5 separate regions of the Homo sapiens genome follow, and all the other regions are linked to region 2. The links are contacts of gene promoters, found by promoter capture Hi-C in blood cells and fetal thymus (Javierre and others, 2016). All regions are on one chromosome and are shown on one strand. Each heading gives the region's core, a stretch centred on a gene start or on the middle of the fragment in contact. The rest is flanking DNA. Distances are from core to core; before and after follow the strand shown. Region 1 has its middle 13 kb from the start of SIL1. Region 2 holds the start of HSPA9 (heat shock protein family A (Hsp70) member 9). Region 3 overlaps LOC124901081 (a long non-coding RNA gene). Region 4 overlaps SIL1 (SIL1 nucleotide exchange factor). Region 5 overlaps SIL1 (SIL1 nucleotide exchange factor).

Region 1 (5,410 bases), core at 2,575-5,074, 640 kb after region 2:
CAATATCACATAAGACAGAAGAACTTGCCAGCCAAACCCTTTCTGAATTCCTGACCCACAAAATTATGAGATATAACAAAATGGTTGTTTCAGTCCATGGGTTGGCAAACTTTCCCTGTAGTCTTTCATGAGCCACATACCATCTCTGTCACATATTATTCTTGTTTTTTGTTTCATTCTTTCTTTTTTCACAACCCCTTAAAAACATTTTTTAAAAAAATTCATAATTTGCCAGCTATACAAAAAAAACAAAAAACAAAAAAAACTGTGGGCCAGGCATGGTGGCTCACAGCTGTAATCCCAACACTTTGTGAGGCCAAGGCAGGTGGATCACTTGAGATCAGGAGTTCAAGACCAGCCTGGTCAACATGGTGAAACCCCGTCTCTACTAAAAATACAAAAACTTAGCCAGGTGTGGTGATGCTCACCTGTAATTCCAGCTACTCCAGAGAATGAGTAGGAAAATCACTTGGACCCAGGAGGCAGAGGTTGCAGTGAGCCGAGATCACACCACTGCACTCCAGCCTGGGCAATAGAATGAGACTTCGTCTCAAAAACAAAAAAACAAAAACAGACTATGGGCTGGATCTAGTAAATGGGTCCTATTTCATCAGCCTGTTTTAAGCCATGAAGGTATAGGGTAGTTTGCAACCTAGCAATAGCTAGCCAGAACGGTCCCTTCCTTCAGGAAGCTAAAATTCTGCATGTAAGACAGGCATGAAACAAAAAATAAACAATAATTAATTAATCAAATTACTACACATAAAGGAGATAAGCCAGGTGCTGTGGGACTTAATGTCATTGGGGGCTCCAGGAAAGGCTTCCCCCAGAAAGCAACACTTAACAGTTGAGATTTGAAGGATCACTTGAAGTTTTCAGATTAAGAAAAGGAGGGAAAAGTATAGTGTGGCTCAGCCATTTTGGCCCAATGTGGAAACTTCTGAAAGGCAATACTTTCTCCAGAACTCTCTACCAAATCGACCAAGAGCCTGCATCTTGACTTCTTCCTCTGCCCAATTCTGCTTCTGCCTTCTTCTTTTCACAGGTGTTGTTCCACAATAAATATCTTGAACCCTAAACTGTCTCAGTGCCTGCCTTCAGAGAACCCAACCTGTGATGCTGGCAAAAACAAAAAGAGAATTTTTTTTTTTTTTGAAACGGAGTCTCGCTCTGTTGTGAGGCTGGAGTGTAGTGGCGCGATCTCAACTCACTGCAACCTCCGCCTCCCGGGTTCAAGCGATTCTCCTGCCTTAGCCTCCCAAGTTGCTGGGATTACAGGCATGCACCACCATGCCGAGCTAATTATTTTTGTATTTTTAGTACAGACAGGGTTTCACCATGTTGGTCAGGCTGGTCTCAAACTCATGATCCGCCCACCTTGGCGTCCCAAAGTGCTGGAATTACAGGCGTGAGCCCAGCCTTTTTTTTTATTGAAACAATCTTGCTCTGTCACCCAGGCTGGAGCGCAGTGGCAGGATCTCAGCTTACTGCAGCCTCTGCCTCCTGGGATCAAGCGATTCTCCTGCCTCAGCCCCCTGAGTAGCTGGCATTACAGGTGTGCGCCACCATGCCCAGCTAATTTTGTATTTTTAGTGAGAAGAGACGGGGTTTTGCCATGTTGGCTAAGCTGGTCTCAAGTTCCTGACCTCAAGTGATCTGCCTGCCTTGGCCTCCAAAAATGCTGGGATTATAGGTGTGAGCCACCTCACCTGGCCAAAAAGAGAATTTATTGACTCATGCACAGTTATCCATGGCTTAATGACTGGGATATGTTCTGAGAAATGTCTTTACGCAATTTTGTCCTTGTGCAAACATCATAAAGTGTATTCACACAAATCTAGATGGTATAGCCCAGGGGTCCTCAACCATGGACTGGTACCAGTCCATGGCCTGTGAGAAACCGGGCCTCACAGCAGGAGGTAAGCAGCAGGTGAGCAAGCAAAGCTTCTTCTGTATTTACAGCCCCTCCCCAATTGCTCACATTACTGCCTGAGCTCCGCCTCTTGTCAGATCAGCTGCAGCATTAGATTCTCACAGGAGCACGAACCATATTGTGAACTGTGCATGTGAGGGATGTAGGTTGTGTGCTCTTTATAAGCATCTGACTAATGCCTGATGATCTGAGGGGGAACGGTTTCACCCTGAAACCATTGCTACCCCCCATACTGCCACCCTACTCCCCACATCCGTGGAAAAATTGTCTTCCATGAAACCATCCATGGAGCCAAAAAGGCTGGGGACCACTGGTATAGCCTACTACACACCTAGGCTATACAGTCTAGTCTATGCTCCTAGGCTACAAATCTGTACAGCGTGTTACTATACTGATTACTGTAGGCAATTGTAACACAATGGTAAGTATTTGCGTATCTAAACATATCTAAACAGAGGACCGGGCTCGGTGGCTCACACCTGTAATCCCAGCACTTTGGGAGACCAAGGCGGGCGGATCACCTGAGGTCAGGAACTCAAGACCAGCCTGGCCAACATGGTGAAACCCTGTCTCTACTAAAAATACAAAATTAGCCAGGTGTGGTGGCGCCTGCCTGTAATCCCAGTTACTCGGAGGCTGAGACAGGAAAATCACCTGAGCCCGGGAGGCGGAGGTTGCAGTGAGCCGAGATTACGCCACTTCACTCCAGTCTGGGTGACAGAGCGAGACTCCATCTCAAAAAAAAAAAACCAAAAATAAAAAAATTAGCCAGGCATGGTGGCACACACCTGTAATTGCAGCTACTCAGGAGGCTGAGGCACAAGAATCGCTTGAACCGGGGAGGGAGATGTTGCAGTGAGCCGAGATTGCGCCACTGCACTCCAGCCTGGGTGGCAGAGTGAGACTGTGTCTCAAAAAAAAAAAAATTAAAATTAAAAATATCTACACATAGAAAAGGTACAGTGAAACTATTGTAGTATAATCTTATGGAATGACCATCGCATATGTGATCCGTTATTGACCAAAACATCATTACATGGTGCATGACTGTAATTGAAAAGTCCACGGGTAACATGTTGACCTTCAAGCAGAGGTGGATTCGGAGCTCCAGCTTAACGTGATATACAGACTTTCAGTTCTAAAACCAGGAAAGTCCCAGGCAAACTGGGACAATTAATTACTGTAGCTCCAATGTGTAAACAGGTCTTGGTGTCTCCATTTCTTGGCTCTGCTTTCAGCTGAGTTGGATAATTCAGTCTCCGGATCTACACATAGCAAGACAGGACAGCAGCTCCAGACCCTATATTCTCTCAAGTTGGAGTCCTGAAAGAAAGGAACTAGTTTGCTTCCCTCATGACTCCAAAGAATTAGAGTGGGTCTTACTGGCTGTCATTAGTCTACTTGAGACATATGTCCACTGTTTTATTTTATCTGGTTTAGTTTTTTAAATTGAGATATAATTCACATTCCATAAAATTCATCTTTTTAAAGTATGCAATTCAGTAGTTTTTAATATATTCACAATGTTGTATGATTATCACCACTATCTAATTCCAAAACATTTCTATCACCCTAAAGAGAAACTCTAGGCCAAGTACAGTGGCTTACACCTGTAATCCCAGCATTTTGGGAGGCCAAGGCAGGCAGACAACTTGAGCCCAGGAGTTTGAGACCAGCCTGAACAACATAAGAAACCCCTTCCCTATAAAAAATACAAAAATTAGCTGGACATGGTGGCGAGTGCCTATGGTCCCAGCTACTCCAGAGGCTGAAGTGGGAGGAGTGCTTGAGCCTGGGAGGCAGAAATGGCAGTTAGCCACTGCACTCCACCCTGGGCGACAGAGCCAAACCCTGTCTCAAAAAAAAAAGAAACCCTATACTCAGTAACAGCCACTACCCATTCCCCCTCCTTCCAGTGCCTGGCTACCACTAATCTTTCTGTCTCCACAGGTTTGCCTATTCTAGATATTTCATATAAATTGAATCAAATAATATATGGCCTTTTGTGTCTGTCCTCTTTCGCTTAGCATAATGTTTATAAGGTTCATCCATGTTGTAACATGAATCAGTACTTTATTCCTTTTTATTGCTGAATAATAGCCCATTGTATGAATATAAAAAAGTTGTACATGAATGTTCATAGCAGCATTCTGATGCCAAGTGGTAGATAGTTGGGTTGCTTCCACTTTTTGACTATTATGAATAATGCTGCTATGAGCATTCATATACACTTGACCCTTGAACAACACAAGTTTGAATTGCAAGGATCCACTTATATGCAGATTTTTTTTACCAAATGCAAATTGAAAATACAGTATTCGCAGGATGTGAAACCTGAGTATATGGAGGGCTGACTTTTTGTATACTCAGGCTCTGCAGAGCCAACTGCAGGACTTGAGTTTGCATGGATTTTGGTGTACTTGGGCGTCTGGAACTAATCCTTTGCATACACTGAGTGTTGATCATACAAGGTTACCTAGAAGTGGAATTGCTGGATTGTACGGTAACTCTGTGTATGTCCCCATTCTTGAACCAATCACTGTGGCCTAAGAATAGAATGGTATGAATGATTTAAACCTAAGTCACAGGTTCTTTTTTGTTTGTTTGTTTGTTTGTTTTTTTGAGCCGGAGTCTCGCTCTGTCGCCCAGGCTGGAGTGCAGTGGCGCGATCTCTGCTCACTGCAAGCTCCGCCTCCCGGGTTCACGCCATTCTCCTGCTTCAGCCTCCCGAGTAGCTGGGACTACAGGCGCCCGCCACCGCGCCCGGCTAATTTTTTGTATTTTTAGTAGAGACGGGGTTTCATCGTGTTAGCCAGAATGGTCTCCATCTCCTGACCTCGTGATCCACCCGCCTCGGCCTCCCAACGTGCTGGAATTACAGGCGTGAGCCACCGCGCCCGGCCTTGTTTGTTTGTTTTTTAAAGACAGGGTCTCACTTTGTTGCTCAGGCTGGAGTGCAGTGGCACAATCTTGGCTCACTGCAACCTCTTCCTCCCAGGTTCAAGTGATTCTCATGCCTCAGCCACCTGAGTAGCTAGGATTACAGGCATGTACCACCACACCCAGCTAATTTTTGTATATTTAGTAGAGACAGGGTTTTGCCATGTTGGCCAGGCTAGTCTCAAACTTCTGGCCTCAAGTGATCCACCTGGCCCAGCTTCCCAAAGTGCTAGAATTACAGGTGTGAGCTACTGCACCCAGCTTACGCCACATGTTCTACTCCTGATGCTGAGGATGGAGTCAGTTTCATTAGGACCACATGGAATGAAAAGAAAATGATGGTTCACCAGGAAGAAATGGGGTACAGTTATCAGATGGAGGATGAATGGAATCTAGGCAGCAAATCTACAGATGGTCATTGCAAATTGCCATATTAATTGAATGCTCACTATGAGCCCGGCACTGTGTTAAGTACATGCATTATCTCATGTGACCTTTACGACAGCCTCATAAGGATTCTATTATTCTATTACTCCC
Region 2 (5,952 bases), core at 297-2,796:
AAGACATTTAGAACAGTGTCACAGCTATTGTTATCTTGATAGACCAAAGTCACTGGAAGATAATATTTAATTGGAAAATTAACAGTGGTATACTACATAATCTCTAAATAAATACAGATAAATAATTACAGAGAAGAATAATCACAAATGTAGAAAACACTGCTTTGAAGTTTAATATGTATTCCCTCTCAAAGGAAATGATATTATACTTACGCATAATCCCGCCTTGAAACAAGTCTAAAAGCCTCATGACTAAGGCCATTCCAGCTATCCTAAAAAAGAAAAAACTGACTCAGTCACCAACCAGTGTGTATCCTGGGAGGAAAAAGAGAAAACTTGGGCTCACTTAGTATATAAAATACATTAAGCTACTAAAACAGTAAATATTAAAGTTTCCCAAATAAGTAAGACGAAAAAAGGTAAATAAAAGATGGCCTTAGAATCACATTACAGTAGGATTTCTCAACCGTGGCGCTATTAATTTTGGGCGAAATTTTTGTGGTGGGGGCTGTTCTGTGCATTGTAGGATATACAGCAGCATCCCTGGCCTCGACACCCTAGAAACCAATAAGCACCCCAGTAAGTAAGTGACAACCTAAAATATCCACAGACATTGCCAGATGTCCCCTGGGGGAAAACACTTCCCCTTACCTTGCCGTGCAATTAGTTTAAAAGAACTAGAGTTACTAAGGGTCTTTGAAAGAAAAAAGAAAAGTAGTGGCGTTTCACTAGGATAAAAGACCTTTATTACAACTTAACCTCAGGCTCCTTCCAAGCCTTCCTTAATGCCCACATACAATTCCTGTTCTCTAAAGCATTTGTCTTTTATTTTAGAAAACAAGTAACCACTCCATAGCCTTTTCTCCGCCCCACGATCTGCTTTTTTTTCTGAAGTAACAAACGAGTACAATCTTACACCACAGATTTTGAGAAAATGTTGCTAAGCACGAAAACTGGAGTTCCGACTCAGAGCTTTCTTATTTTATTTCACCGTATCAACGGGATCCTTACACACTCTGTATTCTGTAGAGGAGCCAAAAATAAAACTGAAAATAGTGGCTTTCCCAATAGACTGCATCCCTCACCCCCAAGGCCAAACCTTTCCATTCAGCCACAGAACAGGCCATGAGGACCACTACCTGGTAATTTTGAAATGACACTCTAGATCGCGAGGGGTGTGACTCAGCAGGGCCCAAGCCGGAGGCAAAACCTTGGGCAAAATCTTGACCCGGCAGCGCTAACTATGGAAGGCCCGTTACCTTCCTTCCCGCCTGACCTATACTGGAGAATTCAAACCCTAAAGGGCGCGCGGCCTGCCGCAGCGAAGCCCGAGGCCCAAGGCCCGAGGCCGTGACCCCATTCGGGAAGGTCCCAGTTCCTCACCTGGTGGCGGGCGGCCGTAGGGCCCCGGGAGGCTGCGGCGCCCACGAGACGGGCTGCTGCAGCTCGGCTGGCACTTATCATGGCGGATAAATGGAGGAGTACGAGGCAGCAAACAAGCGCTCCGACGGCAAAGAGCTGCGCGATGCGGTGGCGGCAGCGCTTCTGGAAACCTCCAACCACGTGGGGTGAGGGGCGGGGGTTGGTCACTGCGGCCCAGAGGCCCGCTCTTCCGCTGAGGCGCCGCCCGCGCCGCCTGACCAGAGGATACTCGACTGCCGCTCCCGGAGCCAGGGCGTACAGGTAATATGCTCCGCAGCATGATGGTTGGAGAAAGCCTGCCCTCCTGTCCCGGCTGCGGCGGCTCTGAGCTCAGAAAGAGTCCAGGGGAGGAAGAGGGATATGAAGGCCGTATCTCGGACAGCCCCGGTCCTCGGCGACAGGAAAGACTCAAGGTCACACGGGATAAATTGCGAACCGATTACAGTCTTCTTGCGTCAGTTGCGCGGGAGGAGGAGCCTGTTGGCGCAACAGACATCCAGCTAAGAACCTAGAGCGCATGTGCGCAAGGAGTGGCGGAAAACATGGGTGGAGACTAACTGCGGCGCTCACTGGGTGCCCGAGTGCACGCCAGCGTTCCCTGGGGCGAGCCCGGGCGCGTGCACACCCCCCGGGCGTGGACGTGTTCCCAGCTCCCGCTCCTGGAGGACGGCGCCATCTTGTCTTGTGGCTTTGTGAAGTGAGGACGTCAGTACTTTTGTTGTTTGGTCCCGCCCGTTGTTCACAACTTGAAAGACACTTGGATATGCAGACAGACGTTAAACAATTTCGTGTTGCGTTTTATCACAGGGGTCTTGGGTTTCCAACTACGAAGCGTTTGATTCACACAGAACATTAGGCCAATTAGCCTGCACAAAGGGAAAAAAAAATAGCTGAGCTTGGCCGGGCGCTCACGCCTGTAATCCCAGCACTTTTGGGAGGCCGAAGCGAGCGGATCGCGAGGTTAGGAGATCGAGACCATCCTGGCTAACACGGTGAAACCCCGTCTCTACTGAAAATACGAAAAAGTAGCCGGGCGTGGTGGCAGGCGCTTGTAGTCCCAGCTACTCGGGAGGCTGAGGCAGGAGAACGGCGTGAACCCGGGAGGCGGAGCTTGCAGTGGGCCGAGATCGCGCCACTGCACTCCAGCCTGGGCGACAGAGCGAGACTCCGTCTCAAGAAAAAAAAGAAAAATAGCTGAGCTTCAGGCTCTTCCTCTCCCCACTGTGCTGGGCCTGACTTGAGACTCCTCTGGCCCTTTTTAAACCTTGTGCTGGTGGCAGGATGTCAACTACTTCACTACCCTGTGACCAGTTTTTAGGTTTTTGTTTTTTTTTTTGAGGCAGTCTTTGTCGCCAGGCTTGAGTGCAGTGGCGCCATCTCGGCTCACTGCAACCTCTGACTCCCTGGTTCAAGCTATTCTCCTGCCTCAGCCTCCCAAGTAGATGGGATTACAGGCGCGCGCCACCACGCCCAGCTAATTTTTATATTTTTGGTAGACACCGGGTTTCACCATGTTGGCCAGGATGGTCTCGATCTCCTGACCTCGTGATCTGCCTGCCTCGGCCTCCCAAAGTGCTGGGATTACAGGCGTGAGCCACCGCGCCCAACCCAGTTTTAGATTTTTAAGAAGAGGAATTAATTGATTCAACAGATATGTTTTGGCATGCCTACCGTGTGTCAGTCACTCTCCCAGGTGGTAGGAATACAGCGAAAGCAAAACACGAACGAATGGCTGATGACAGATTGAACTTGATTTTGGAGATGAAGCAATTTGTCCTGGAAGCCCGCTTTCAAAAAAAGAGAAATGTTTCAGACCCCCTATCTCTTCAGGAAGATCTGTATTATTAAGTAGTCACCCCTGGGTGAGGAACTGTGAAGGAAATGTTGGGGAAAGTTGGGGAGGGAAAGAAGCTAACTGAAGAGTTTACATTCTGAGGAGGATGGCAGTGGGAGTAAGAAAATAAACAAAAGTCTAACGTAACATGGGTTATAGATTATATAGATTCTAAAAGTTTTTAAAAAGCCTCCCACACACTCTTAACTGTCAGCTATTACTATATTATCCTCACTAGTTACTTAACACTTCATTTCTCTTGTTTTTAGTTCTCTCAGAAGGCAGGGGTGGCCAGGCGGTGGCTCACGCCTGTAATCCCAGCACTTTGGGAGGCCGAGGTGGGAGGATCACTTGAACCCAGGAGTTCGAGATCAGCCTGAGCGACAGAGTGAGACTCCATCTTTAGCCTCTGTCGCCCAGGCTGCAGTGTAGTGGTGCAGTCTCAGCTTACTGCAGCCTCCACCTCTCTGGGCTCAGATGATTCCAGTGCCGCCTCAGCGCCCCCCTCCCCCGAGTAGCTGGGATTACAGACATGCGGCACTACGCCTGGCTAATTTTTGTATTTTTCGTAGAGACGGGGTTTCGCCTTGTTGCCCAGGCTGGTCTCCAACTCCTGAACTCAAGGGATCCGCCCGCCTCGGCATCCCAAATGCTGGAATTACAGGCGTGAGCCACTGCGGCCGGCCAATTTTTTTTTTTTTTTTTTTTAAATTGGCTGGGCATGGTAGCAAGCACCTGTAGTCCCACCTACTTGGGAGGCTGGAGTGGGAGGATCACTTGAGTTCAGGAATTTGAGAACAGCCTGGGCAACATGGCAAAACCCCATTTCTACAAAAAATTAGCCGGGCATGGTGGTGCACCTGTAGTCCCAGCTACCAGCTACTCGGGAGGCTGAGGTGGAAGAATCACCTGAGCCAAGAGAGGTCGAGGCTGCAGTGAGTCGTGATTATGATTGTGCCATTTCACTCCAGTCTGGGTGACACAGCGAGACATTAAAAAAAACAAAAAACAAAAAAACAGAAAGAAAGGAGAAAGGAAGGAAGGAGGGAGGGAAGGAGGGAAAGAAGGAAGGAGAAAAGGAAATAAGGAAAGGAAGGAAAGAGAAAGAGAGAAAAGAAAGATGCGGCCGGGCGTGGTGGCTCACGCCTGTAATCCCAGCACTTTGGGATGCTGAGGCGGGTGGATCACCTGATGTCAGGAGTCCGAGACCAGCCTGGCTAACATGGTGAAATCCTCGTCTCTACTAAAAATACGAAAATTAACCAGGCGTGGTAGTGGGCACCTGTAACCCCAGCTACTCGGGAGGCTGAGGCAGGAGAATTGCCTGAACCCAGGAGGCGGAGGTTGCAGTGAGTGGAGATTGCACCACTGCACTCCAGGTGACAGAGCCAGACTCCGCCCCCCCCCCCCCCCAAAAAAAAAAGAGAGAGAAAGGAAGAAAAATGAGAAGGCAGGCTTTCTTAAAGGCTATCCAAACAGGCTCATGATTCCTGTTTGTAGAGATTTAGATTCTAAAACAATATACCGATGCAAAGAAGACAGAGGAGTGACAAATAATATTGAACATTGAAATGCAATAAAAAACATTATGTTCTTACGTTGTACATGACGGGGCGGAGAAGGGCAGGTGGAAATAATTGGAGAAACTGCATACTTCTCACTTCTCTGTTGTATTAACTGGTTCTCCTAAGAGTTTTTCTTTTCTTCTTCTTTTTTTTTTTTTTTTTTTGTATTTTTAGTACAGATGGGGTTTCACCATATTGGCCAGGCTGGTCTCGAACTCCTGACCTCAAGAGATCCGCCTTCCTCGGCCTCCCAAAATACTGGGATTATGGGCGTGAGCCACCGCGCCGGCCGAGAGTTCGCTTTCCTTTTTCTTGCTCTATACGTTAAAAAGCCACGAAGTGTTAATCAAAAGAATCCTGGAATTAGGCCGGGCGCGGTGGCTTACGCCTGTAATCTCAGCACTTTGGGAGGCCGAGGCGGGTGGATCACGAGGTCAGGAGATCGAGACCACGGTGAAACCCCGTCTCTACTAAAAATACAAAAAATTAGCCTTGCGCGGTGGCGGGCACATGTAGTCCCAGCTACTCGGGAGGCTGAGGCAGGAGAATGGCGTGAACCCGGGAGGCGGAGCTTGCAGTGAGCCGAAATCCAGCCACTGCACTCCAGCCTGGGCGACAGAGCAAGACTCCGTCTAAAAAAAAAAAAAAAAAAGAATCCTGGAATCAAATGTTGTTATCTAAGGGTGTAGGAAACTACGATCCTATGGGTACATCCAGTGTGTTTGCTGTTTCTGGTGGTTTCTCAGGCGCCTTGCAAATACTCTCCACGACCACAAGGGGGATGTGGTAGCGCTAGATATTCAAAGCACAAGCTTTATCATATCTTCAGCGTGAAGGACAGGCTACTGGACTGCTTTGCAAATTAACATGGGCTACAGCCTGAAGGCTCAAGGAAATGAACCTGAATCTAAAAACATAAAGGTTCAGATGAGCAAGAATGGACAGATCCGTAGCTAAATGGTATAATTCTTCTACAGCACAGTGCTGTATTTCATTTCTGTTGTCATCTCAGTGCAAAATTGGGAAATGGAAGGAGCTAATGCATAATCTGCATGCAGATAAATGTTTACCAAACAGAGCAGGCGGCTGTCCAATACCTGTGTATGCCATACATATATATTATTCAGGAAA
Region 3 (5,838 bases), core at 3,050-5,549, 710 kb after region 2:
ATTTTACAATACTTTTAGATTTATAGAAAAGTTGGGAAGATGGTACAAAGAGTTCCCATATATACCATACCCAGTTTCCCCTAATAACATCTTACATTGGTATATTATGGTTGTCACAATTAAATGGGCTAATATTGATACATTAGTATTAACTAAAGTCCATACTTTGTTCAGATTTCATTAGTTTTTATGTAATGTCTTTTGTCTGTTCTAGGATCCCGTTGAAGATACCACATTACACTTAGGCTCCTGTTGGCCATGACAGCTTCTTAGACTTGTTTTTAATGACCTTGACAGTTTTGTTTTTTTGTTTGTTTGTTTTTGAGACGGAGTCTCTGTCATCCAGGCTGGAGTGCAATGTAATGGCTCAATCTCAGCTCACTGCAACCTCTGCCTCCCGGGTTCAAGTGATTCTCCTGCCTCAGCCTCCCCAGTAGCTGGGATTACAGGCATGAGCCACCGTGCCCGGCTGCCTCCTAAATTCTCAAAACATTCCATTTTTATTCTGTGGTCTTACTTTATTCTGTCATGTAGAGAATAGTGGTTGAGCCTGTTGTCTTTTGAGAGTGGATGCTGTAGTCCTTACATGGCTGACTTTCAGCCCGTAAGCTTATAGTAGAGGATGGGGATTTTGTTATCAGCTGCTAAAAGGGAGAAGCCAAGCCCAGAACTAAGGGTTCTGATGAGTTGAAGGAGAGGGAAGATGCCCCTCAAGGCAAAGAGCCTCTGAGTTAGAATCTGTGCTTCACCAGAGTGACAATGGTAGAACTTCTCCTTCTCAGTATTAATTCTCCTGGAGAGAACTCTAGGGTTGTCTAAACCTGTTCAACTAGGCTGACTACCCCAGCAAGTGATGGGTTGGACATAAGGCAAAGAACAGGAGGGGTGAAAGGGGGCAGAACAGACAAGTTCTGTCCCAGCCTCTGCTACCTCTAACCCCATGGCATTCTATCCTTTTCTACACTGGGCTTCCATTTCTTACCCCAACAATGATCTGTTCTTCCAGGTGCCGTCATTTAATTTCCCAGACACTTGACCTCCTTCTGATTTGTGTACTCCCTCCAAGGCTGAGTTGCAGTGAGTGACAATAATCTGTGCTAATTACTTATCTTGCCAGAAGACTCAAAGGGTTTATGGCTTTTACTAACTGAACTCTATGCTAGATGTTAGGGATAAATGGTTAACAGGACACAGTTCTTGCTTATCTTGCTATGGTCTGTCAAGCCTTATACAATCTAGCCTTATCTCTCTCACCGTCTTATCTTTATCACCCGTAGATTCCCTTGTTGGCCACTGGTTTCTTTCAGTCCTTAATTAGCCTTTTGTCACTACCTGTCTACACATGCTGTTTTTCCCTTCTCATTCCATCTTGACATTGTCTATTTTGAGATCTCAGCTCAGTTGCAGAGAAGCTGCCTTCCCCATCTGGCAACCCATTATATGTGTCATAGTACCATGTTGTACCATAGAGCTAGACACAGGTGCCATGTTGTGTCTTGAAATGTATTCACCAGCTTCCAAAGGTTTACCTCAATCCCCTTTACTCAAGAAGCCTCAGTTCTACTGACAGTTGGTAATAATAACCTCTCTGTCATAATGTACCCAAAATAGAGTAAGAATATCATGCTTTTCAGTAATACTCCAGTGAATGAGGCTAAGAGTACCATTTTTGTTCTTATAAAAGAATTTTTTTGGACATGAATACAAAGATGTCAGGTTACCAAATCATTTGCTAGTAGATCCTAACAATATCACCTATAGGAAACTGAACGTAGCCTTTAAACATTAAGTGATGATAATGGATTTGGCCGGGCGCGGTTGCCTATAATCCCAACACTGAGAGGCTGAGGTGGGTGGATCACTTGAGGCCAGGACAGGACCAGCATGGCCAACATGGTGAAACCCCGTCTCTACAAAAGAAAAAAATACAAAAATTAGCTGGGTGTTGTGGTGTATGCCTGTAATCCCAACTATTTGGGTGGCTGAGGCACGAGAATCGCTTGAACTTGGAAGGCAGAGGTTGCAGTGAGCTGAGATCGTGCCACTGCACTCCAGCCTGGGTGACAGACTGAGACAGTCTCAAAAAAAAAAAAAGAAAATAATGGATTTGCAGAGACTTGCTATTTAGATTTCAGACATCTGTTAACTAAAACACATGTGTAGGCTTTTGTTACTTATTTCAGTAATCTGTAAATATCTTTATATTTGAGAAAATTTGTGAGACATCTTTGTGTAAATTATAACTTGAAGAACCTCTCTTACAAGCAGGCATATTGGTAAGTAGCTGCGAGGATATAACTTATAACCAGATTGAAGTGTATAATTATAATATGTTATTATTCTGGGGTTCTATAAAAAATAAAATCTTTGAATCTATGATTTTTTGTCATTAGGGTATACTTTGGGACATGTGGCGCCATAGAATATCAACACTATTTACTACATGTTGACCATGTTAAATACATTTAACACATCTCTTTTTTCAACAGCCCTACAAGGTACATGTTACTTGCCCAAAGTCACAGTCACACGAGAACTTGTGTGGTGCTGAATGAATCTGGCTCCAAAAGTACTGTTTGGTTTAGGAGCTTTCATGTATAGTGCCCTCAAGTCTTGTAAATTTCTGCTTCTTCAATCATCAACCTCGTTCAATCTAACATCTTGAAGGAACTACTCAAATGTCTTACTTACAGATTCTTACAACTATTTCAAATGCCAAATACCTTGTTTCAGATGGTCAACATCTTGGCTACTCTTGCTGTAGTGTGCAGTGGGTTCTGTTTGTCCTAACAGAACAAAACATAGTCTTTTAGATTTTTAAAAAATATTCCTCTGGAAAGCCTTAATGAATGCCACATTCTAATCCCTAGTCTTGCCCCATGATATGATTTATCACTTTTTATTAAAATTCCTCAATGCTTGCCCTGTTGTGTCTTGAAGAAACTGTGGGCCAGAATAAGAATTTCAAGACATTTTTAAAATTTTTATTTGAGACAGAATCTCGCTCTACTGGTGGCACAGGCCTCTACTCCCAGTTACTTGGGAGGCTGAGGCAGGAGAATTATTTGAACCTGGGAGGTGGAGGTTGCAATGAGCCAAGATTGCACCATTGCACTCCAGCCTGGTCAATAAGAGTGAAACTCCGTCTCAAAAAAAAGAATTAAATGAGATCAGGAAAACAAGACATGAACAATATGAAGTTCAACAAACAGAAATCATTAAAAAGAACCAAATTCTGGAGCTAGAGAACACAATGACTAAATTGGAAAATTCCACAGACGTTTCAACAACAGACTCAAAAAAAGAATCAATGAACTTGAGACAGATCACTTGAAATTAGTCAGAGGAAAAAAAAATGAAAAAGTGAAGCCTATGGGACACCATCAGGTGAACCCATATACGCACTTTGGGTATTTCAGAAAGAGCAGAATAAAGGGCAGAAAGTTTACTTAAAGGAAACTTCCCCAATCTAGAGAGACAAATGAATATCCAGATCCAAGAACCCCAAATATATTAAAGATATCTTGACCAGGACACATTATAATTAAACTCTCAAAAGACAGAGTTTTGAAATTCATATATAACCTTTTCAAAAACTCCTTTGTAAGACCTGACCCCATCCTCTTGCCACTGCTAGAAGAGCAGCTACTGGTTAAGTTTTCTGTTTTTAAGTAGCCTTAAAAAATGACCTGGTTCCAGGGCATTAAAACTGTCCCAGTAGATTTCTGAGGTGTCAACTCTGCTGCAGACAGCATAACATTCAAAGGCTCTGCATTTGTCTCTAGCTGCAAGATCATAGGCAATCTTCTTTTTAAAAGCTATTTATTTATTATAAAATAGAAATGGGGTCTCACTGTGTTGATCAGGCTGGTCTCGAACTGCCCTCAAGTAATCCTCCCACCTCGGCCTCCCAAAGTGCTATGATTACAGGTGTGAGCCACTGTGCCTGGACTTTTTAATTTTATTATTTATTTCTGTAGACCTCCTCTGTGGACAAGCTTCTTGATATCTTATGTGAAATAGGAATAATGGTACGTTGGCCAGGCACAGTGGCTCACACCTGTAATCCCAGCACTTTGGGAGGCTGAGGCGGGCAAATCGCTTGAGGTCAGGAGTACAAGACCAGCCTAGCCAACTTGGTGAAATCCCATCTTTACTAAAAATACAAAAATTAGCCAAGCTGGTGGCACGGGCCTGTAATCCCAGTTACTTGGGAGGCTGAGGCAGGAGAATTGCTTGAACCTGGGAGGCGGAGGTTGCAGTGAGCCAAGATCATGCCACTATACTCCAGCCCGGGCAAGAGAGCCAGACTCCGTCTCAAAAAAAAAAAAAAGGAATAATGGTAATTAAAATGTGTTATCAACTGCTTAGTAGAGCATGTAAATAGTGGTCTATTCTGCTAGACTCCTGAGCTCCATGAGAGCAGAGACCTTTTATTTTGTTTTATTTTGTTTACTATTATGTACTGGCAAGTGCCTAGTATACAATAGTAATAAATAGTCTCTCAAATATTAGTTGGCTGCTGAATATCAAATGGTTGACCTCAAAGGTGTGAATTCCATAATTCCATTTTGTCGTCTTTTAGGACTTTTACCTTTGTCAAGCTTAATTTTCTCATCAAAAGAAATTTCAAGAAAAATGTCATTGATGACAGGACTCCTCATATTCACATAATATATTTTAATGGATTTTGTGGTGTCAAAGTATATGTCCCCAATCTTTTCTTGCTTTTTCCTCTACTCAAAATTGGAAAAGGTCCTCATTATAATCTCAAATCCATACTCTATTCTGGCATTGAAAGTTTCATTACAGGGCTGGGAGAGGAGGCTCACGCCTGTAATCCTACCACTTTGGGAGGCCAAGGCGGGTGGATCACCTGAGGTCAGGAGTTCGAGACCAGCCTGGCCAATGTGGCGAAACCCCATCTCTACTAAAAGTACAAAAATTAGCTGGACATGTTGGCGCGCACCTGTAATCCCAGCTACTCAGAAGGCTGAGGCAGGAGAATCGCCTGAACCCGGTGGGCGGAGGTTGCCGTGAGCCAAGATTGCGCCATTGCACACTAGCCTGGGCAACGAGCAAAACTCCGTCTCTAAAAAAAAAAAAGTTTCATCATTAAGCTGTACCAAACTTGTCACTTAGACCTTTCAAAGTCTCACCAGCAATTCTTGCTTTGAAAGGCCCCATTCTTTACCATTCCTGATGCACACCCACTCCCACACCCAAATGTGAATACAGCTTTTTACCCATGCCTGCTCACAAACAGGCCCACTTTGAGGTCAAACTCCTTGTCAATCTCCATCAAACCAAGATCCTAAGGGCTGGAAGTTTGTCTTTTCCATCATTGTAGAATGTCCTTCATGAAATAGGCATTTGATGAATGAAATCTTGCATTAATTTTGGTGGCCGGGCATGGTGGCTCACACCTCTAATCCCAGTACTTTGGGAGGCCAAGGCAGCCAGATCACATAAGCCCAGGAGTTCGACACCAGCCTAGGCAACATAATGAAACCCCGTCTCTACAAAAAATACCAAAAAAAAATTAGCTGGGTTTGGCGGCGCGCTTCTGTAGTCCCAGGTACTCGGAGGCTGAGGTGAAGGAACACTTGAGCCCAGGAAATCAAGGCTACAGTGAGCCAAGATGGCACTAGTGCACTCCAGCCTGGGAAACACGAGACCCTGTCTCAAAAAACAAACAAACCAACAAACAAAAACCAAACTTTTTTTCCTTTGTGTCTTTTTGCTGATAAGCCCCTAAGCACCTGTTATATTTCTTTTGAATCTCCCACATCATCACTAAGTTCCTCAATAAATAATTACTTCGTTGAAAAAGTTTGA
Region 4 (5,947 bases), core at 1,473-3,972, 560 kb after region 2:
ATACCTGTTGAAGACGAAGAGGTAGACAGGGCTAAGGCAGGGCAAGAGTTTCAGTGCTATCAACACAGAGGTGATCATCAAAGCAACAGGAGCAGAGCGACTATCTTTCTAGGGAGAAACCTTAGAGAGAAAAGGACAGCGGACCAAGCATAGTCTTCAACTCATGGCTGCACGTTAGGAAAAGGGAGCAAGCAAGGAAACCAGAGGAGCAGCCACATGATTAGTGCAGACCTACACAGGTCAAAAGAGTGGAGAATCCTGAGAAAATCCAGTTGTAGGCAACAATGTCAGGAGATCAGTCACTGGATTTGGCAATGAGGCAGTCAGAGGGCCCTTCAAAAGAGTGTCCACAGATGAAGACATAGAGGCACAAGGGTAGGCCACTCCAAAAGGCTCAATGGGTCCACTAAATTTTGAAGATTTGAGGCCACATTTCTAAATGTGATTTTTCAACATTTCACTAAAGTCTTAATGAGAAAAGAGAAAAAAAAATTCCTCCATGGGTGCAACAGAGGGATTCTTCAATACCATACATAAGTTCCTATGATTGATGAAGAGCTACCCCACAACACACATGACCTCAGGACAATGATGGGCATCAGTCACTCCAGCAGAAGGAGGGGGCAGGGAGGTAAAATTTCTAAGAAGAAACTCCCATCAGACACAATTCTACCTTCTCTGGGCTCTCAGCCATGCCTCAGACTGCCCGGAGGCTTTAGTCCTTCCACTTTGTGGAAATGTAATAATAACTCCGCCATGGCGGAGACAGAGAAATACCCTAGTGCCACCCCTTCCCCCAGCATTCAAATATACTATCTGGGCATCCCAGAGGAAAATTAATTCTGTCAAATAATAATTATAGTCAACATTTATAGAGAACTTTCCATGTTGCAAGCAAAGTATTAGTTCATTTACTCTTCACGACAACCCTCTGAGGTGGTTCCAATATGCTGCTCATTTTACCCATGAGGGGACCAAAATTCAGAGAGGTTAAGTAACGTGCCAGAGTTCATGCAGCCACAGAGCAGTAGAGTCAGAATTCAAAGCCAGTTTGGCCCCAAAGCCATGCTCTTTCCATAGCCGTGCTGTCTCTCGAGGGGTCTGTGAAATCAGCCACAGAAACTGGACTCATCATTTTATTTGTTCTGCAACAGTATAAATAAAAAGGCACATTTTGTGTCAGGACAGAAATTTTTTTTTTAATTTTATTATTATTATACTTTAAGTTTTAGGGTACATGTGCACAATGTGCAGGTTTGTTACATATGTATGCATGTGCAATGTTGGTGTGCTGCACCCATTAACTCGTCATTTAGCATTAGGTATATCTCCTAATGCTATCCCTCCCCCCTCCCCCAACCCCACAACAGTCCCCGGTGTGTGATGTTCCCCTTCCTGTGTCCATGTGTTCTCATTGTTCAATTCCCACCTCTGAATGGGTGCTGGGAAAACTGGCTAGCCATATGTAGAAAGGACAGAAATTTTTAAATGAGCCTACTGGGGCCCTCTTGTGGAAAGACCCACCTCTACCATGTTCTAGTTTCTGCACCACACACAAACACACACCACACACACGCGCACACACACACATACCACACACAGGCACCTTGATTACTAAATGCCCTTGGCACAGACCAGCCAAGGCATAGGCACAGGCATTCAGGAAGAAGAAATCCCTTGACTCAGATTGCAGCCAGGCTTCCTTTGTGACTTGATCCCTTAAACTCCTATCACTCAAGCTTCCTAGCTATACACGAAGCAAAAGCATCCCTGCTCCCCTTCATGGAGCCCAGTGCCAGGCACACACACACATATACACACACACACACACACAAACCACAACCACACACACCACGTATATACACACACCCAACTGTCTGGCAAGAACTTGACACCTCGCCCCTCCATGCAGAAAATACACAAGACAGAAGTATTTCTACATGGCAGACAAAGACGGAGTCTTCTTTGGTGAATGGGGCTTGCCTAAGCATACCAGCAGTTGACCAGATGAATCAGAGGAATACTCAGGTCCTAGTCTGTACTTTCCAGTAGGTCCTAGACTGTAAGCTCCTAGCAAGATACAGACAAGGGGACCTACTCCTTATACCTGATCCTTGACCCTGCCTGAGGTACCGGGAGTGATCAGCCCATGTCTGATAACAACCAAGGTTACAAGAAGCTCCATTCCCTTCCAACCCACTACAGTGTAATAGGAAGAATGCAGGCTCTGGATTTTGAGCCAAGTCTCCCCTACTAGCTGTGTGACTTTGGGCCAGATGCTTAACCTCTACAAGTTTCAACCCCTTCATCTATAAGAGGACTTGATAGTAACTATTTAGTATGACTGTCTATATTAAATGAGATGACATAGAGCATATAGCACAGTGCCTGACACAAAATGAGGGCTCATAAAGCTTATAGCTCTCACTACTATTATTAGAGAAAATTCTGAGCAAAGAATAGGATAAGCAAAAGCAGCGAGGGCTTCACCCCCATACAGAACTGTCTTCTGTTCTGACAACCAAGCCCCTCTTTGGAGACTAGCTTCCCTGAGCCACAAGTCAGCCCACACACCTGGACTATACTCTGGGTGGTTACAGACACATTTCCATTGAAACCTTTAAGCGATGCTGGCTGGCTCTGCATCAGTGCCAGCTGACTGACATCAAACACTTCAGAGTCCCGCTTCCTGATGACTCAGGCCTGTCTCCAAATTCCTGCTGCCACTCTCCTACCTCTAAGGGGGAGTCAGGGAGAGTAGGAACAGCCGGGGCAAATGCAGCTGACCTAGACTGCTGGGACCACTGTAGACAGATGCAGCTAGCATCCAGGGACTAAGGGTCCCAGGGCTTTTCTTCCCTCCCCTTTTAAAATAGTAACTGGATCTCCTGACAGTATGTGCGATGGGCTTTCTCTATAGCCTGCTCCCAAAGAACACCAGGGACTTTCACACCACAGTCATCCAGATACCACGGTCAGGGTTCGAGGGGAGGAGAGATCAGAATTCATCTTTCCTTTCCCCTGATGTCTCTAAGCTTCCAGAAAACATCAGGGCCTCTTAAAGGGGCTAAAATAGGGAAGAAGGTATGATTTCCAGTCCATAGTTCTAAAGGAACTATCTGCTAACTGGTAAGTACAATTTGTTTGCCATTTCTATTGCAAGCATTCAGCACTCACACTCTAAAAGCAAATACCACACAAAGATAATTTCAGCATTAATGTCAGTTCCTTGAGCACACTGGGCACCATACTATGGAACAGAATATACAAAAGATATTGTCACTTGCCTCAGGTGGATGATGTCCTGTTCACATTCAGTGGATAATGTGGCCTTCCACATCTTAGTCTCAGACAGCATAATTATTAAAAAGAAAAGGACAGGCGCAGTGGCTCACACCTGTAATCCTAGCATTTTGGGAGGCTGAGGCAGGTGGATCACATGAGGTCAGGAGTTCAAGACCAGCCTGGCCAACATGGTGAAACCTCATCTCTACTAAAAAATACAAAAACTAGTTGGGGCCGGGCATGGTGGCTTACACCTGTAATCCCAAAACTTTGGGAGGCTGAGGCAGGTGGATCACCCGAGGTCAGGAGTTCAAGACCAGCCTGGCCAACATGGTGAAACCTCATCTCTACTAAAAAATACAAAAATTAGTTGAGGCTGGGTGCAGTGGCTCATGCCTGTAATCCCAGAACTTTGGGAGGCCGAGGCAGGTGGATCACTTGAGGCAGAAGTTCAAGACTAGCCTGGCCAACACGGTGAAACCCCGTCTCTACTAAAAATACAAAAATTAGCCAGGTGTGGTGATGGGTGCCTGTAATCCCAGCTACTCGGGAGCCTGAGGCAAGAGAATTGCTTGAGCCTGGGAGGCGGAGGTTGCAGTGAGCCGAGATCGAGCCACTGCCCTCCAGCCTGGGCGACAGAGCAAGACTCTGTCTCAAAAAAAAAAAAAAGACACTAATTACAACTTTGTAATAATGAGCTAGGCAATAATTAGGGTACTCCTTAAACTAATTGGGGAGCCCCAAGAAAATAGCATTTACTTACAGAAACACTTAGCAACAATACGAGGATGGGTCACCAAGCACAGGACTTGCTACTACCATGTTGGTATCAACTATGTCTTCCAGGTAAGTCAGCAACTGCAACATTTTATTTTTAACATGCCTGAGAGCCCAAGACTATTTATAATACCAGATCCTTAAAAACTTGAAAGGGAGATGAATTTTAAAATGTACACATTTACATATGTGGGCAGAAACACAAAAATCAGATGCCTCTCAACACAGCTCAGGGAGCCATAACTCACGGCTTTCACAATCCCACCGAATGCCCAGAGAAAATCCGGGCACCTTCTACAAGGGATGGTAGGAAGCTGGGTAGGTAGCCAAGAAACAAAGAAACCTAAACTCAGTACTTGGCAGGACAATTAAGGAGCAGAGGATTTTAAATGCATTGTTTCTGACTCTAAATATGGCTACATTTATTACCAATTTGGGATCAGAAACCACATTTAGTTCTGTCATGACCACATGCTAAAAATATTAAGCAGAGTATTGCCTAGGAAACAGCAGTTCTCCCTGCTGCGGCAGCTCCACTTCAGAGCCATCTCTGCCATGGTCACAGGGTTTCCATCCTGTGCTTTGCTGAGAGCACAGTTACAAGCAGAACTGACACTGTCCTGCCAAGACGTCCCCCCGCATTTTAGAAGGCAGCAATAGGAACCAGAGCTAGGGACTGCACAAACTCCTCATCCTCTCCAGGGCTGTTTTAGGTGTCAGTGAAGCTCTATTTCATAGGCCTATAACTAGAATCCATCTGACTGGGAGCTCCACAGCGGGAGGGACAATTGTCTGTGTAACATACCACTGTCTCCTCATTGCCCAGCACTTTTCCTGGCACTCAAAAAATAGCCATTGATTTAATAAAATCAATAATCTAAAAAGAACCATTTGGAAGAGTACAATGGAAAATAACACTGCCATTAAAATAGGTAAAAATATGGACTGTGGTAATACATAAAAACAGGTGCTGGCCAGGCACAATGGTTCACACCTGTAATCCCAGCACTTTGGGAGGCCTAGGTAGGAGGATGACTTGAAGCTAGGAGTTCAAGATCAGCCTGGGCAGCAAAGTAAGACTCTGTCTCTACAAAAAAAAAAAAAAAATTTTTTTTTCATTAGCAGGGCATGGTGATGCAACTATGGTCTCAACTACTCAGGAGGCTGAGGTGGGAGGATGGCTTGAGCCCAGGAGTTCAGGGCTGCAGTGAGCTATGATCACACCACTGCACTCCAGGTTGGGCAATAGCGAGACCCCTATCTTTAAAAGCAGATGCATAAAAAATTGTTGAGTGGAAGTGAAAGCAGCAGAACCTAATGGCATACATATGTAAATTACTACTTTGGAAAGAAGTGTGTGTGGCCACCTCTATGATCACATGTGAACTTAGAATTATGGAAAACTGTGCTCAATGGAATCTTTCACCCTGAAATGTTAAATATCTGAGAAAACACTTTAAAATACATTATTTTCAGCACAGAACCTACTCCCTTATCAGCTGACTTGTTCTGATCTCCTGAATGGCTCAGAGGCCTTGTTCTTGTTCAGCAAACCCAAGATCAGACCATACACTCATCAGCCAAAGGAAACAGAGAACACATGGAAAAAGCCGCAGTCTTAAAGTCCAACTTAGCAACTTGACCCTGTAAGGGCAGTTTCCAGGCTGCATAATCAGAATGGCTGGCTGCCCAGACAGGCGGCCAAGATGGAAGTGTCAAAACAAAAAAGTATGGAAAAGTTCACCTGGCCCAACTTCAAAGCCAAAGCTCCAAAAAGGTAGGAGTTTAACAGGCACTTACTGGCCAGCAAGGTGCCTGTTAAGAAGGGTAGCAGTACACTAATCCTTCTCAAACTCTTCACAAAAACCAAAGAGAAGGGAAACAC
Region 5 (5,695 bases), core at 472-2,971, 610 kb after region 2:
GAAGTCCCACCTCCTGTCAGCCAAAGCCCTTGCATCTACCTTTCACACTGTTGATGACAATCAAGGTAGAAAAAAGATGTGAGATTCTTTAACTGCAGACTATCAATATGCCTGAATTACACATTAGCCCTATTAAAGTAAAGGCAACCCATAGCAAGGCTTCACTAAAAAATGATGTTAAAACAAACCTCGCCAGGGGACCAGGGCTGGCCTGTTTTGTTTTCTACACTGTAATACACAGTTTTTGTTTTTTTGGTTTTTTTTAAGGCAGAGAAGGGGGTGGAAGGTTATTTGAATTTAAACGAGCAGTAAACACTATAATCTGTGTGCAAGGAGAAAAGGAACATTCAGAAGTGCCAAGTGCAGCCTCTTGGGACATGTGTGGCCAGGGCAGTAGTAGCCCGGGGGGCTTTCTCCTTCAGCCTCAACACGCTGCTCTCATTGCTTGGGAGCAGGCAAGCCAGCAGGCAAGGTCCACGCAGCACAAAAAGGCACTGTTCCCTAGGTCTAAGGAGAAGATTGCCCTCTCAGAAGGAAATTAATATGACGCAACACGGAATGAGCAGGGCGAGTCATCCACAGAAGTCACCTATCTAAGGAGGGGGTTTGAAGAGGTGTTACTCAAGGCATGGACCACATCTGTCTCATTCATCACTGTATTTCCAGGGCTAAGCAGGTCCTGGCACACAATGGGTACTCAGCAAATAATGGTGGACTGAATGGTAACCAGAAAGAACCCTTAGGTTGGAAGCCACTGACAAGAGCTAGAATCTAACTGTTCCTATTGTAACCTGTGGTAACAAAAGAGCCGTGGACGGCAAAGAATATATAAAGGGAGCCAAGAGAATAAAAATGAGTCTATCTCCAGTACCTGGTGCCTTAATAGACTGACAAGTGTATTCTGGTCAGATTACAATATAGCCCTAGAAGGACAAAGTGGGAAGGAGAAAAGGGGAAGAGGGAAGAGTGAGAAACAAGTGAGACAAAACATTTATTGAGTGCTTACCATGTATATATCTGAAAAACCCAGGGGGTTTCACAGCTGAGGACACAGGAGCAGGGGGGTTGAGTAGCTCCTCTGAAGTCTCACAGCTGTTACATGGTTTAAATCTGGGTGTATCTGATGCTATGACCCAAAAGCTTGCCACCATAATTTGCCTTGGTTTCCTCCAGAGGGGAGCTGGCTTCCCAGCTAATCTCTCCTACAGAGGAGAGATGCTCTTACATGTCCACATAAATCAACTTAGTCGTCATGTTTATTGGAGTTAGTTAACTGGAACTGTGACTTGATGGTCTCTTATGAATTTCACATGCCTGAGGCAGGCCCCCAGGAACTGAAACCTGGATGAACTAACTAAGTTTACAGGCCTGCAAAGCTGCACACCAGTAAGGTCCTAAGTCATCAGCTTTCTAGGGCAAACCTCTCTGGCCCGGCACAGGTCAGGTCTGGGTAAGGAAAGAACCTAAGCATGACCTCTACATGCCCCCAAGTTCTCCTCAGAAATTACAAAGAAGCCTTCCCTACTCCATGCTATGTCAGCCATACACAGAATTCTATTTGAAGGCTTTAAATTCTGATTTAAGTAGGACTAACAGAAGTAAAAAGCCAAGGATTTCTGCATGGTCCTTAGAAGCAAATGAGCCTTCCCTCCATGTCCATGGTGCTCCTGCCTCCCCGGAGTTTCCAGAGACCTTCCACACCCATGATGTCAGGTGCAGCAGAGTAGAAAGGGCAAGGTGATTTTCCATATTCTATTCAGAAGAGACCAGAGGTGAGAATCAGCCAGTGCTCCTAATGGAGGTGAATACCCTGGACAAACTCAGAGGCAGCTTAGGTTGTACTAAAAAACATTTTCAAGGTTGTCTGTTTATTGCACCTCCTGTATGAGGGCTTTCATCAGTTAAAATGGGTTTTTTCAAAGCACAGGGAAGCGGATGATTCACCCAGGTGCACAACAGCTGCTGGGAAGACCTGTGGGAAGAGGCCACCCGGCAAAGGCAGGCTGTGTATGGTAAGAAGGGTCTCCAAGGAATGCCCTACATGCCAAGCCACATGCTGTCAGGATATTAATCCAAACCCATCTTGCACACTTTACAATGTTTACTCTCTCTGGGATGTGGAGCATTAAATTATATCCAAGGACTACACAAGTCCTTCCAATTCTATTCCACACTCACTTCTTTGCTAAAAAGATTTGTAACCTGGAAACAAAGCCCTCTGCCTAATAGCAGCAATAACTCTCCGCAAAGAATAGGAAGCCAGACTGTCAGTTCAAACTCTCCTAAAAGGTATTGCCCCATTGAAGCTTTAGTTTAGGTTTCTCCAAAAAGTGGAGAAACCTACTACTGATCCCCTTTTTCCAGAGAGGACAGGCCTGTGTAACTAAGCATCCTGAAAGGAGGGTTCAAACCAAAAGAGGAAAGAGGAATCACCACCACTCCATTCCTGCCCTAACTGCAATGGTCCTGGAAATGGTAAAGAATTCCAAAGAGGACTGCCTCATTGCTACAAGAACTAAGAACAAGGTACATTAATAGGAGACAAAGCTACCTGGATTAGTCACAGCCCTACTCTGGCTAGCAGTATGACCCTAAATGGGTCATTTAGACTCTCCGAGCCTCAATATTTTACCACCATAAAATGGGGGTGTTGTGTGGCCAGGCACAGTGGCTCATTCTTATAATCCCAGCACTTTGGGAGGTCAAGGTGGAAGGATCGCTTGAGGCCAGGAGTTCAAGACCAGCCTCGGAAACATAGCAAAACCCCATCTCTACAAAAAAATTTTAAAAAATTAGCCAGGCATGGTGGCACATGCCTATAGTCCCAGCTCAGGAGGCTGAGGTGGGAGGATATCTTGAGCCCAAGATTTTGAGGTTGCAGTGAGCTACGATCACACCACTGTTACTCCAGCCTGGGTGTGAGTGAGATGTTGTCTCTAAAAAAACTACAACTAAAAAATAAATAAATGGGGATGTCATAAGAATCAGACTGAAAACAGTAAAATTTGAAAACAGTAAAATATTGCACATACTTTACACCTGATTGTTATTCCAAAGACCCCTGCATGAGAAACCCTAGGACATTTCTAGGGAGCAGAGAGGCCAAGCTGTCACATCTGAGAGGCAGTCTACAGCGACTGGGTCCAGTTGTTTACAGAGAAATCCATATGTCAGGAATAAAGTGAGGACAGAGTAAAATTTGAAGAGAAGACCACACATGGGTCTGCTCAGCTACATTTAAAAAATAACAATACAGCAGGTCTCCAAATAACATTGCTTCGATCAACATTATTTCCTTATAACACCGACGAGAAAAAAATAATTGTTTCCCAGCCAGGGCCACTGCTTGTGTGGAGTCTGCTTATTCTCCCCATGTCTGTGTGGGTTTTCTCCAAGTCCTCAGTCACCTTCCACATCCCGAAGACGTGCCTGTTAGGTTCACTGTTGCGTGTAAGGGGTCCAGTCTGCATGAGTGTCAGGGTGTGTGAGTGTACCTTGAAATGGGATGGCATCCTGTCCAAGGCTGGTTCCTGCCTGGTGCCCTGAGCTGCCGGGATGGGCTCTGGCCACCCAAGACCCTGAACTAATAGGGTAGTAATTATCTCACTTGTTTTTGTTAATCCTTCTTAAAGGAATGTATAGCTCACATTTATCTCAGTTTTTAATATTAGAAGTGTTTTGGTCTTTATTTAGAAGTTTGGTCATGTTTCTGTAACAAGAAATATTCTGTAGGAACTTAACTCTTGTTTATACCAATGAGCCATAGTAAAATTGGTTTTGTATACATTTCACTTAAAGTCACAGTTTCCAAGAACTTATGACCGATGTCAAGTGAGGACTTACTGTATATGCATATGTTTCAAATTTGAAAAGGCACACAAAGACATATAGTGAAAAGTAAGTCTCCCTCCTTCCCAATTCTCTAGTTACCCAGGGCCTCTCACTAGAGACAAACTGCACTGCTTTCAGTTTCTCATGTAGTCTGCCCGAGATATCCCAGGCAGCTAATTTCTACTGGAGATGGGGATATCATTTGTGGCAACACTCTCAGACCTAGAAGGTGATGCCAGGCAAGTAAGCACTGCTGGGGCACTTAGGGACTATGAAAAAAATGAGACAGCCAGAGGATAAGATATCACCTTGCAAAAGGTTCCATGGAGATGCAGACTTCCTTCTGGCTATTATACTGTTTTGCCCCTTGGCTGACCACATTTAAGCAGTGATTCTGTACAATGTATTTCCCTTTTAGTTGTATTTGTTCACCCAGAGCTCTTTCTCAGAGATGTCATTAACAGAAGTGGCCTCTGGGACCTTATGCTGCACCAGCCTGACCACCAGGCCCTTCAAAGTAGCCAGAAGCAGGAACAACTATCAAACCTGCCTCAGTGGAAGCTGAGCAAAAGGGCAAAAAGTGCAAAAGTTCTTGAGTCACCACCTTTCTAGGGACAAAAGTTGCTTTTCATAGCCCAGTGAAATCAGAATATAAGGGAGGATAAAGCCCAGACCATAGATGTTCTACAGGGCCGAACCCAAGAGATTAAGTCACTACCCACAGAAAATCATAGGACACTTTTATCTAAAGATAGGCTTTCACCAAACGCCCTCAAAAGTTTTCAAGCTATGTCCTCCCCTCCCCCACCTTTATTATTTTACAAGGAATTTAAATGTGTGAAACTCCAGCCTCTACCTAAAGGATACAGATGGGTAGCCTATAGGTCAAATCTAGACCACAAATATGCTTTGGTAGTCCCTAGAGATTATGAATATCTGGCCTCCCATATGACATGAGGAGGCCATACTCACCCATGACGATAGGCTGAGTAGCAGCCACCCCTCATGAAGCACATAAGCACTCCGGTTTGACACAGGCCTACCATTCTCTGTTGCCTCTCTGTTCCCAACTTGGCCCTAAAAACATCTGAGTTGGAGACTCCTAGCCAGTGAGTAACACAGGAGGCTAAACTGGCAAGTACATCAGCTGACCAAATAGCAGGACTCTTGAATTCATAAACATTTATTGAACACTCTCTATGTGCCAGGACTGTGCTGGGGATTGGATGCATGAAGAGGAATGACAGATGCAGTGTCTGCCCTCTAGGAAGTTCTAATCCAATTGAGTGTATAAGGCTTACTCTAAGGAATCCAATGCTTCAAAAACAAAGGGCTCTGGGAATGGAGCATGTGAACTCACTGTGGCTGGGAATCAAGAAATGCTTCAGGGAAGTAGGATTTCAACAGGATTGTTATCATTTCTTAAGTTTTCATGTAAACATCCATTCAACAACCATTTATGGTATCCATATTACACTCAGCATTATGCTAAGAGACACATTAAATCACAACCCATATCCTTGAGAAGCTCATATAAAAAGAGACAAACATCATACCATAATAAAAGTGTGCTGAATTCTATAATAAAGGTGTTGCAATGGGGATACAGATGAGGACACATCAGGTAAGGCTCACTGAAGGCGGCAGCTCTGCAGCATAAAGTAGGGAACCGGCTGGGTGCAGTGGCTCACGTCTGTAATCCCAGCACTTTGGGATGCCGAGGCGGGTGGATCACAAGGTCAGGAGCTCGAGGCCAGCCTGGCCAACACGGTGAAACCCCGTCTCTACTAAAATTACAAAAATTAGCCGGGTGTGGTGGCACATGCCTGTGGTCCCAGCTACTTGGGAGGCTGAGGCAGGAGTA

What was found. Contacts are between HindIII fragments. The CHiCAGO score rates a contact against its expected background, and 5 or more counts as called.
Region 1: a fragment that was not itself captured here is called in contact with the fragment with the promoter of HSPA9 in region 2 in 1 of 17 cell types (endothelial precursors); the score reaches 6.5 in endothelial precursors.
Region 3: a contact is called between a fragment that was not itself captured here and the fragment with the promoter of HSPA9 in region 2, in 14 of 17 cell types (erythroblasts, naive CD8 T cells, naive CD4 T cells and 11 more). The highest score is 14.4, in erythroblasts.
Region 4: a fragment that was not itself captured here is called in contact with the fragment with the promoter of HSPA9 in region 2 in 1 of 17 cell types (endothelial precursors); the score reaches 6.2 in endothelial precursors.
Region 5: a contact is called between a fragment that was not itself captured here and the fragment with the promoter of HSPA9 in region 2, in 1 of 17 cell types (endothelial precursors). The highest score is 5.6, in endothelial precursors.

What each region holds. Positions count from the first base shown.
Region 1 is chr5:139,208,925-139,214,334 of GRCh38, forward strand. No RefSeq gene overlaps it. Among named protein-coding and RNA genes, the nearest start is that of SIL1, 13 kb to the left of the region's middle. The HindIII fragment of the contact is 3,764 bases long and covers 1,943-5,410 here.
Region 2 is chr5:138,573,855-138,579,806 of GRCh38, forward strand. HSPA9 (heat shock protein family A (Hsp70) member 9) reads right to left here and starts at 1,547. Exons shown (of 17, transcript NM_004134.7): 1 at 1,384-1,547; 2 at 214-272. The coding sequence starts at 1,464. All of the region lies in intron 1 of LOC105379193 (a long non-coding RNA gene), which reads left to right. RefSeq lists enhancers at 1,128-1,775, 1,292-1,341, 1,582-1,861, 1,776-2,424, 2,002-2,141 and 1 more. The HindIII fragment of the contact is 10,827 bases long and covers 1-5,631 here.
Region 3 is chr5:139,282,525-139,288,362 of GRCh38, forward strand. LOC124901081 (a long non-coding RNA gene) reads right to left here. Exons shown (of 4, transcript XR_007058956.1): 2 at 2,724-2,786. It overlaps SNHG4 (small nucleolar RNA host gene 4), which reads left to right. Exons shown (of 7, transcript NR_182757.1): 7 at 215-2,376. It also overlaps a transcript of MATR3 not described here. Among named protein-coding and RNA genes, the nearest start is that of SNORA74A, 6.7 kb to the left of the region's middle. The HindIII fragment of the contact is 606 bases long and covers 3,997-4,602 here.
Region 4 is chr5:139,136,330-139,142,276 of GRCh38, forward strand. All of the region lies in intron 1 of SIL1 (SIL1 nucleotide exchange factor), which reads right to left. Among named protein-coding and RNA genes, the nearest start is that of SIL1, 59 kb to the right of the region's middle. The HindIII fragment of the contact is 621 bases long and covers 2,413-3,033 here.
Region 5 is chr5:139,181,735-139,187,429 of GRCh38, forward strand. The region is part of intron 1 of SIL1 (SIL1 nucleotide exchange factor); the gene reads right to left. Among named protein-coding and RNA genes, the nearest start is that of SIL1, 14 kb to the right of the region's middle. The HindIII fragment of the contact is 1,166 bases long and covers 1,139-2,304 here.